Linked DNA regions of Homo sapiens: region 1 is linked to region 2. Evidence: promoter capture Hi-C in human tissues and cell types (Jung and others, 2019). All regions are on one chromosome and are shown on one strand. Each heading gives the region's core, a stretch centred on a gene start or on the middle of the fragment in contact. The rest is flanking DNA. Distances are from core to core; before and after follow the strand shown.

Region 1 (5,459 bases), core at 308-2,807, 390 kb before region 2:
CTGAAAGTTTTTCCTCTATTCTGATGTCACAATCTTCAAAGTTATCAGAAACCTGCATTCAAAAGTACCTGTTTGAGTTTTATAGCTGATTATCAAACCACTTTCTAAAGAGGACCCAAACAAGACAATAATTGTTTGTGGATGACAAAGAGTTTTAGGGCAGCCATAGTCAAAGACACAATTCACAAGGAAATTTGTTGCTTCTGTGGCACACAATAATTTAACATAACAATTATAATTATTACTGTTAATGTACAGTAAGTCATATCAGAATTATAGGAGTTTCTCCACAATTTTGGAACACATACCAATAACATATTTATACAAATACAGCCCAAAGAAAACCAAATACCATTTTATATTTGACAATGCTTTCTGTAAAATTTTTATACCAAATAAGCCAAATATATCATTTTTGGGCTTTAGGGAACCTAATATCTTAAAATATTAATTAGATCAGAAAAACACATAATTTATAATTTGATTTTGGAAAGTTTGTCAAATATCAAAGGTTTAAAACACTTGATATCACAAAATAGGATCACAGATCATTGTAAAATAAGTCATTCATTTAATAAAAGTGATAAGGATTTCAACAAAAGACAAAAACCTTCATTCTTTGAGAGAGGAGACTTAATTTTCCAAACAATAAGCCCTAATGAAAACAGAATGAAGCCAATTAAATTTGCTTTCCAAAATTTTATAAACAATCTCTAAAATTTTTATATTGACTACAAGATATAACTTCCATAAGCCTTTTATAAACTTTATAACATTTATTAAGGAGTTGGTTAATGCTTCAAGAAAACTTTGTCAATCTGACACAGGGGCCCATATGCTTGCATCAGTGTCTTGCATCAGTGTGCCTTTGACATTAATCATTAATTTATAGAAAAACTGAACTTATTTTATCTGTCAAATTGGCCCTGACAATCTCACACACCCATCTCTTCTGCAATAGTCTCTGGGCCCTGAGGAGTTGAATAGCTTTAATTTCTGGCCCTGTGTCTCAGGAATGCAGTTTATTTTGATTGGCGTCTTCTACCAGGCCTGAAGATGAGACTTTAATTACTGTCAGGGTTTAAAATTTAGCAGGACTTGGTGTCCTTTTTAGACCCAGGAGTCAAAGCCCTGTAACTGAATGTCACAATGACTTTAAAAGTACATACAGAAAGATACACAGATGCAATAATCTTAATTTTAAAAATGTTTATCACAGTTTTTTTCTAAGCAAGCCAAAACTTCATAATAATGGCATAGAAAATATTTTGATAGAATGTAAAATGTGTTAGGCCAGTTACCAAAAAGCAAAAGAAAAGACCTTCTGCAGTGTACAGAATATTATGTTGAAAGAAAACATTTCCTTTAGACCTTTAAGAAAACATTGTTAGTATCAGGCCACAACAAACATAACTCGAGGGAAAAAAAATTTATGTGAGCTGAAAATAAGTTGAAGGAGAGCATTTCTATTTCATGCCTTTTAAAAGGGGAGAGAAAACTAAGCTTTCTTACCAAAAAATACCTCTTTATTTCTATAACTTTCTTTACATCTCTGTTATTTCCTTGTTCCCTTTACATTGTTTTATACATAACCTTTAAATAAGCTTTGAATTAGACACGAATTGTTCACCTTTTTAAAAAGGACACTTTTGTTTTTTTTGAGATGGAGTCTCAGTCTGTCACCCAGGCTGGAGTGCAATGACGTGGTCTCTGCTCACTGCAACCTCCGCTCCCGAGTTCAATCCATTCTCCCGCCTCAGCCTCTTGAGTAGCTGGGACTACAGGCACATGCCACCACACCTGGCTAATTTTTGTATTTTTAGTAGAGACGGGGTTTCACTATGTTGGCCAGGCTGGTCTCAAACTCCTGATCTCATGATCCACCTGTCTCAGTCTCTCAAAGTGCTGGGATTACAGGCGTGAGCCACTGTGCCCAGCCAAAAGGACACTTTTTTTTTTAAGAAAGGATGTTTTCCTACAATATATATTTTTATTGAGATATCTATTATTTAATTTAATATACCTTTAGATTCTAAATTATGAGAAGTTTGTCTACAAGTATTTATCCCATTATGTTTACCTAATTATTTTATTTTAATTGTTTATCTAGATTATTTATGAAAACTGTGATAGTCATCATTTAAACTTATGAAATTTGCCATTGCAAAATTATAACTGAGATAGTGAAAAAAGACATGACCTGAGTCCATCTTGCTTCTAACCTCCAACCTGTCCTTGTTCATTCCTGGACATAAGTCAAATTCACTTTGAGAGAAAGAGAGTTTATAGTTAAGCTTTGAAACAAAGATGATAAAAGTCTTTTCCCAAACAAACCACCTTACTGCCTGTGGACTACATTGCCTAAAACCATAAGATTAGAAGTTATGATAATTTTACTAAATAATTCAAGATGTAGCTGTTTTCATTAAACCAGTATCAATATCTTATTTATTAAAAATTACACAAGTGGCTAGGTGCAGTGGCTCATGCCTGTAATCCCAGCACTTTGGGAGGCCGAAGCGGATGGATCACCTGAGGTTGGGAACTTGAGACCAGCCTGACCAACATGGAGAAACCCTGTCTCTACTAAAAATACAAAATTAGCCATGCATGGTGGCGCATGCCTGTAATCCCAGCTACTCAGGAGTCTGAGGCAGGAGAATTGCTTGAACCTGGGAGGCGGAGTTTGTGGTGAGCCAAGATCACACCATTGCACTCCAGCCTGGGCAACAAGAGTGAAACTCTGTCTCAAAAAAAAAAAAAAATTACACAAGCAAAGATCATTCTGTTTTGGGCTGGATTTATAGTTTCATAACCCCTGTGTTAAATTTTGACACCTTATGGTATTTGCCAGGGAAAAGTATGATATTGCTTGATCAATAAATGCAAACAAAAATGTTTGCTGGCAATTCTTAAGACAGTTCTAATATTACTTTACCAATACTTTTAAAGCTAGCTTATTTATTAAAGATTTTACTTAAGTTACATAAACTTGAAAGAGTATTTGACTAGTCTTTCCTTTTTTCTGAGAAAGTATTTGATTTAAGTGCTTTTATTTTTCTTTAAGCCAATTAATTAGACTTCTTTTCTATATTTTTAGAAGTGAAACATTGTGTACACAATACATAAATACATAGCTGTATTAGGCATACTGATGGAAGTACATCTTAAAGATTCCTAAGATCTCCTTTTTTTTTTTTTTTCCTATCTTAGACTTGCAAACTCTTGATAACCTGTTTCATTATCCTGGCAGTTGTCAGCTAAATAGCTGTAAATCTGCATATTGAAGGAAACAACTCTTAGATGAAAAATCAGATAGCAAAATTTACATCTCAAGGTACAGAGAGATAAAGTCTGGTGGTGCTAGAGGGAGATTAAAGATGGATGTCAAATCAAACATAAAATTATAGAAATCTATCATAAGATTGTATGAGAAGCCCAATTTTATTTAGATAGGGATTACCTATCTTTTAAATGGATCTCTGAGCTCTAGGCAGAGTCCACACTGAATTCTTTGTCTCCAAAAAGGGAGAATTATTATGAGGCTAGACCACGTGATGTTTTTACAGTGCACTTAAAATTTTTTTTAAACATAGACATTTCTAAGTGTCTAAACTACACTCTTCCTTAAAAGTCCAAGAGTAGTCTCTGTTGCAATAACTATTTTAGTCAGTAAGTCAGGTGACACAATACAAAAGCAAGCAGTTTAAGAGCTGAGACAAACTTGTCTGTTTACACTCTTGGGGTTCCACAAGGAAAAAGGAAAAACATGTTTCTCCCTCAAAGGGAGCCTGGTGCCTTCTCCATTTTCTTTAGGGAACCCCAGGCTATTATAAACTATTTTACATCCCTCATGCAGCAGAGGGTGCAAGAGAAAGGAGAGACAGCAGAAGTAAATGAAGAAAACGGAATTCAGTCAACTAAGAAAAACTTTTTTTCAAAAAAGAAGAAAAGACAAGGTCCTAGAAGAAAAAAAGACAAGGCCCTAGGAGAAAAAAACAAAGCAAAAACATGAAGACCTTTTAAATACAAACACACACACATGCACACATATACACACACATCTTGGATGTTAGCTTTTAATTCAGCTGACTTTTTACCATTGAGCTCCTTTAAAAGAACCTTTTTAAATCTCATTACCATATTTCAGCTAGGACAAATTGCTGCTATTAAGGGAGGAGACCACCCCTCATATTGTCTTATGCCCAATTTCTGCCTCCAAATAAAAAAGAAGTAAAAACTAAAAGGCAGACAGCCCAGCGCTGCGCCCTGGGCCTGGTAGTTAAAAATCAACCCCTGACTTAACTGCTTGTGTTATCTATAGATTCCAGACATTGTATGGAAAAGCATCGTGAAAATCCCTGTCCTGTTCTGCTCCATTCTGATTACCAGTGCATGCAGCCCCCAGTCATGTACCCCCTGCTTGCTCAATTGATCACGACCCTCTCATATGGACCCCCTTAGAGTTGTAAGCCCTTAAAATGGACAGGAATTGCTCACTGGAGGAGCTCAGTTTTTTGAGACATAAGTCTGCTGATGCTTCCGGCCAAATAAAGCACTTTCCTTCCTCAACTTGGTGTCTGAGGGTTTTGTCTGCGGCTCGTCCTGCTACATTTCTTGGTGCCCCGACCAGGAAGTGAGGTGATTAGCGGACGGTTGAGGCAACCCCTTAGGTGGCTTAGGCCTGCCCTGTGGAGCATCCCTGTGGGGCACTCTGGCCAGCTTTAGCGACACAAATCCTGAGAGCACTCCCGGGTAGGCAATTGCCCTGGTGGAATGCCTTGCCAGAGCAGTGCACGGTAGGCCCCCATGGAGGATCAACGCAGTGGCTGAACACCCAGAAGGAATTGGCGCTTGGACTCCAGACATCTGGAACACGGTAAGACTGGTCTTGGAACTTGCCCACTTGGAAACATGGCCTGATCACCCATGGCGTGCCTTTATCAGCGACTTGGTTTTGGTTTTGATTTTGACTAGATTCACACTGCTTTGGTTTAGATTTTGGTACTGGCTTTTGGATTTGAACTGTTTTGGCTTTGATTTCAGTTCTGACTTGGCTCAAATTGCTTGATGAATGAGTAACTCCTTATCCATGCTTTGGTTTTAGTGTGAATTGCTTGGTGAGTGAGTGGAGTGAGTGACTTTTTGCCCCTTTTTCCCTTCCCTCTTTGTGGTAAGAGCGTTATTCTGTCTCCTGAGAGAGGAAAATGTGTAAAACACAAAGTAAGCCTACCCCATTAGAAACGATGTTAAAGAATTTCAAGAAAGGATTCAATGGGGACTATGGAATTGCTATGACACCTGGAAAGCTTAAGGCTTTGTGTGAGATAGACTGGCTGGCATTAGAGGTGGGATCACCATCAGAAGGAAGCCTAGACAGGTCCCTAGTTTCAAAGGTATGGCCCAAAGTAACTGGTAAATCAGGACCAGATCAGTTTCCACACATAGATACTTGGTTG
Region 2 (5,080 bases), core at 1,267-3,766:
CATTGAGGGTTTTGACTCTTCGGGCTCTAAAAGGATTACTCAGGATCTGGAGTTCCGTATGAAACAAAGGAGCTGAAAGAATTTGATTGCCATTGGCTAAAAATATAGAGGATTTGAGCCACAACTGGCCCACATTTGAAGAATGAGGAACAAGAAATTTAGTGGGGATATAATATAAATGTATGGGAGTGAGAAAGATGCAAAAAACAAGGCTAGCTCCTCAAACCTCCTCCTCTTTCTTCCTCATCTCCAGCTTATAGACAATCTGGTAGCCATCATCCCAGGCATAGAGCTGGCGTTCTCGGGGGTTATAGCGGAGGCTGGCATGGGCACCATATCTGCGGGGAAAATAAGGGAGTGCTGCCCGTTCAGGGGTCAGGGTGCCGCTGGCATCAAAGGAGCACTGGATGCGGGCCCGACTGGCAGGACGGGTGTTATAGACGACATAGAGGGTCCCACAGATGACAAAGGCAGCCTCAGCATTCTCTCTGGGACATGGTGTGTCCCACTGCTGCTCTGTGTCCAGTGTCTGTGGATCTAACTTGGCCAGACACAAGTGCCTGTCATCCTCCCGGGTGGCATAGACAGCCCAAAGACCTTCCTCATCAGCTGCCAGGTCGATGTAGGTGTCTGCTGTCAAGCCGTAGGGGGGGATCAGCCCCTCTGCTGGGAATACTGAGCTGTCCACCACTGTTCGGTTTGCCAGGTGGAATTTGATTAGCTGCAAAGTGTTCTCCATCTCACCACCTCCACCAGGTCTTCCAGGAGGCCTCCGAGCAAAATAAAGAAAGCCACCATATACCAGCTGCCCTGTGCCTACCCAGGGGAAGGGCACCCGGACTCGGGAAGCTTTCCGGGCAGCCATGGCAAGGGTGAAGTCACGCAGCCTTGGGAAGACAAAGGCTGTGTCATTCTGTGTCCCATCTAACACGTAGATCTTCTCTGTTTGCCCCAGTGGATCCTTGGTCCATAGACCAGCTGGGCCACCAAATCGCTTCAGAATCTTCATTGATCTCACTTGAGAGATTGTGTAGCCACAGTCTGATGAGAAAAGCACAGGAAAAGGAAATAGAGGCAAGAATTAGATGCCTCCAGCAGGAACTCCCCCAGGGTGGGTGATCTGGAGAATAGTGAGCATTTGCCCAGTGGTTGCCTCCAATCTTAGGGAGAATTGAGAAAGAGCGGGTACCACAGCGGCCTGGATCCCCAGAACCTCTCCTTAATAGACCTGGCATTACAGAGGTTTCCCTAAAACAGATTCCAGAAGACAGAGCCACAATGGACTGGGACAAAGCGAAAAAAAGAGTAAGAAGCAAGGAAGGAAGAATATCGGTTCTGAGAAGAGTTAGGGGCCTGCTTTCAGATTATTTACCTGTCACCATATCGTACTTCTCATTCCTTCTTCCCTTGCCTTTGGTCCCAGGGCCTCCAGTCACCTTCTCATCAAACTCTACACAGGGCAGAGCTGGGTTCTGGGTCTCCAGATAGTCTACCTCCCGCTCCAGACGATCCACTCTCCCGGAGATGGTGTCGGCCTCAGTTCTGAGTGCCTCCCGCTCCTTCTCTGCCACCTCCAGCAGTGGCAGCATCTTGTTCTTGAAGTCCCGCAGCTCAGCAGCATGCCGACTACTCTGGTCCTGGCACTGGGCCAGCCGTTCCTGAAGGGATGGGGGATCAGGAGGGAGGCTGCAGGGTTACAACTCCCAGGCAGGGAGAGGCCCAACTCGGGAGTCAGGAATGGGAAAAAAAGAGCAAACTCAGCCAGGCTTCAATATCCCCTTCCACTCCTGCAGAAAAGGAAACCAGATGTGCAGAGGTGCTAAATGTGCAAAGAGCCTAGCTGAGATTCACCTAGGCCCCTACCCCGACTCCATGTCCTCCAGCCTGTGTTCTCTGTGAGCAGTGCCACTGAGCCATCTGAGCCTCTAGGCAGGTCTAAGCGCATGAAGGTGTGAAGAGGTCTCTGCTCCCTTAGCAATTATCCTCTCGGACACTAAAATGCTACGGATCTCAACCTGTTAAAAAGACAGGAAGTTATAGATTCCCCGGGAACCTCCAACTTCAACAGAATCATCACCTTCTCTGGAGATGCAGCCCCACAATTTTGGCTCTCGTTTCCACTCTGCCCCCTTATTCTATCTAATCCCAGAGGTAAAACGCAAAAGTCGATTTGCTTTGGAATTGTTCTATGTGGGGTAAGAGGAGGGCTTGTCATTCCGAAGGTCCTCTTATTAAGAGAGAATTTTCTGTAGACTCTAACAGAGCCCTTTCTTGTTATCCCCAGATCCCTAACAAACTGGTTGAACCAATAGCCCTGGAATCCTTCTAGGCGGGGCTAGAAGAGAAAGGGGTCCCTCACCTCTAAAGCAGCTAGTCGGCGTTCCATGTACTCCACAAGGTGGTGCTGCTGTCCTTGGAGGGGTCCCGACCATGACAAAAGGAACAAGATGAGGAGAGGGGTGCTGGGCCCCATGGCAGCCTGGAGAGTGGTGCCAGAGTAGAAGGAACGTACAGTCAGCCTCTTCCCCTCAAGCCCGAGGGTTAGCTTTGGAGGCGGGGTGGGGGCGGTGCCTTCTCTCCTGATCTCTGGGTCTCTCTCACTACTCTGGAATGCTTTCAGTTCTCTTTACAACCCCCACCCCCTCCTTTCCGCCAGGATTGATCAAACACAGATGGCCCCATTGCACAGCAGCCAGAAGCCTTAACCACCTCCCGCCTAGGCTGTAGGGTCCTCTGGAGGGGAAAGAGATGGAAACCCGAAAGCAGAGGCCTTCTAGGCAGTCAAGCAGGGAAGCTAGCTGCAGAAAGCAGAGACCCCAGAGAAAACTCAGCAAACGCCATTCCTGTTTTAGGAAAGTTTCACCAGTGCTGACTTAAGAAACTGACATTTTTCATTAATCTTTCCCTTTCCCTGCAATAGAGTGGGTTTTCAGCCTTGTTCAGTAGAAGCTGGGAGCTGGGGAGGTGAGGCTTGAAGGGAGGAAGCAGGAAAACAATGGCCCAAGTGGTCAAGCCCAACTTATTCTAAAGCTCATTGGCGCCACCTTGTGCTAAGCAGCTGGTGTCATCTCTCATGATAATACAGAAACTAAGGCTTAGACTTCACCCCATGAGGAAAATTTTCCACAAAAGCCAAATATATTGAATTTACAGGGGTTTTCACCACTGAAATGCATATTTCCCCCAAGACTATCCAATTACTACTTTGGGGGCTATGCAAATATCTGATTTAGCCCAAGGAAGAAAATATAACTGAGATTAAAAAAAAAAAAAAAACAGGTCACTGAGAAGTTAGTAAATTAACTCGATCGTCTGGAAGTTAAGGCTGACAGCAGCGCTGTTTTACATGGCTTTCCTTTGCTTGAAAGAGGCCAGATATAGTCTCTCACCAAAACTGAGGAGTGTTCAGTGAGTTCACACTAATTTACTATACATTCATGTATTGCGGGGGGGCGGAATCTGATATATATATATATGTTGTTGCAGTCTAGATCAATGTATTCTGACTTCCTTACCACTGGGAGAAAAGACTATTGGTTATTTCTCTTGGTTGTGGTCCAAAAGGGTATTTCTGAGTGTTTCTCATTTCTATATCCCAACTAAGGCTGCAGGAGCCCAAAATGAATTAATGGCCACCATAAGGTAGACTTGGGCCATAAGGTAGACACACGGGCCGAAAAAAAAAATCAAATAGAGCATTTACTCAGAGACCTGCAGTCATTAATCGAAACAAACCCCTATTTCTTTATCGGGAGAAATTCTATTCACTTTAGAATCAACAGAATCTGATGAGAGGTTCCTTCTGTAAAAAGGACCATGACTCTAACAGTACAGTTTGAAAGGAGGGGAAAAATAGCAGCTTCCTGTGGTTACTCATCTTTTCATTCTGCTACTGCTATCTGGCAAAACATATGAGGAAACAAAGCTTAATTAGCCGGTCTCAGAAGTCTTCTACCTCTTTCAAAGGGTCAGATCCAGATGATGTGAAGTAAGGACCCTGGACACTGCATTCTTGGGAAGTATTCCCTGCCAAACCCTATTCATTTCCAGTATGGAGATTTGTGTGAAGAATGAAATTGTCTCTAGTACTCTACTGATGTTCAAATACAATATGCTTAGCCACTTTCAAAGATGTCATTTATTGATCCCCTTTATATCCTATAACAGAAGTCAAAAACAGCCACATAAGTCAGAAAATTTACCCATTTTATTGATGCATTGCAATTGCTCTACATTTTACCATATTATGTAGAAAATACTGAAAATACAAGCTACTTTGTAAAACCAAAGACAAACATTGAATCCAAAGATAAACTATGTTTTACACAATGGACCCTTTTCCCATAGTTAGTATTAAATTTTAAATATCTATTTCTTTTGTTAAAATGATTATTTTACATACTCCCTAAGTACATCTGCATTACAAACATAGCTCAGTAATTCTCAGAAACTATCTGTTTCTAGAGGCTTGTTGTAAAAGAAAGCGCACAACCAAAAAAAGGGAGAAAGCAAAAAAAGTTTAAATCGCACACAATAACTAGCATATCAAATACATTTAATAAAGTAGGAATTCCATTGCAATATCAAGGATTCAAAGCAGAAATACTAACATTACATATAATGTACATATAATGTACTGCTACATGTAGTGAGATTATTTTTCAAGCTGAATTGAAACCACACATTATATAAAGTTTAGCAACAAACAACCATGTAGACATGCTGCACCATCTATCAGTTAAAAAAAAAAAAAATCAAAATAGGAAGCAGGCTCGGGCCACTCCTGTCACTGAGAGGCAATTTCATTTCCTATCCTAAAACAAACCATCTCAACTAGTGAATTTTTGCATAATAATGCTGAACAAAACACACATTACTGTGCTTGCCTGGCTAAGGGCAGTCAAGCTTAGCCCCTCTAGTGGAGGACAATGGATGAGCAATCACAAAAGCAGGCTCAGAATGGCCAGAACTGTTTGAAATGGAGTTCTTATTCCTGGGGTTGGTATTTCAGCTGAGCACTGAAAATAATATCACCTCCTGGGAGCTATTAAAAACTCTGGAGTGACCAAGTGTCCCTATG

The links. Contacts are between HindIII fragments. The study calls those that stand out against the background at their distance.
Region 1: a fragment that was not itself captured here is called in contact with the fragment with the promoter of OLFML3 in region 2 in 2 of the 25 tissues and cell types used here (bladder and small bowel).

The regions. Positions count from the first base shown.
Region 1 is chr1:114,368,304-114,373,762 of GRCh38, reverse strand. No RefSeq gene overlaps it. Among named protein-coding and RNA genes, the nearest start is that of TRIM33, 140 kb to the left of the region's middle. The HindIII fragment of the contact is 4,490 bases long and covers 1-3,802 here.
Region 2 is chr1:113,976,910-113,981,989 of GRCh38, reverse strand. It overlaps OLFML3 (olfactomedin like 3), which reads right to left and starts at 2,516. Exons shown (of 3, transcript NM_020190.5): 1 at 2,360-2,516; 2 at 1,373-1,658; 3 at 1-1,041. The coding sequence starts at 2,473. The coding sequence ends at 221. HIPK1 (homeodomain interacting protein kinase 1) reads right to left here. Exons shown (of 16, transcript NM_198268.3): 16 at 4,121-5,080. RefSeq lists enhancers at 1-771, 2,439-3,272, 4,578-5,080. The HindIII fragment of the contact is 5,723 bases long and covers 1-4,415 here.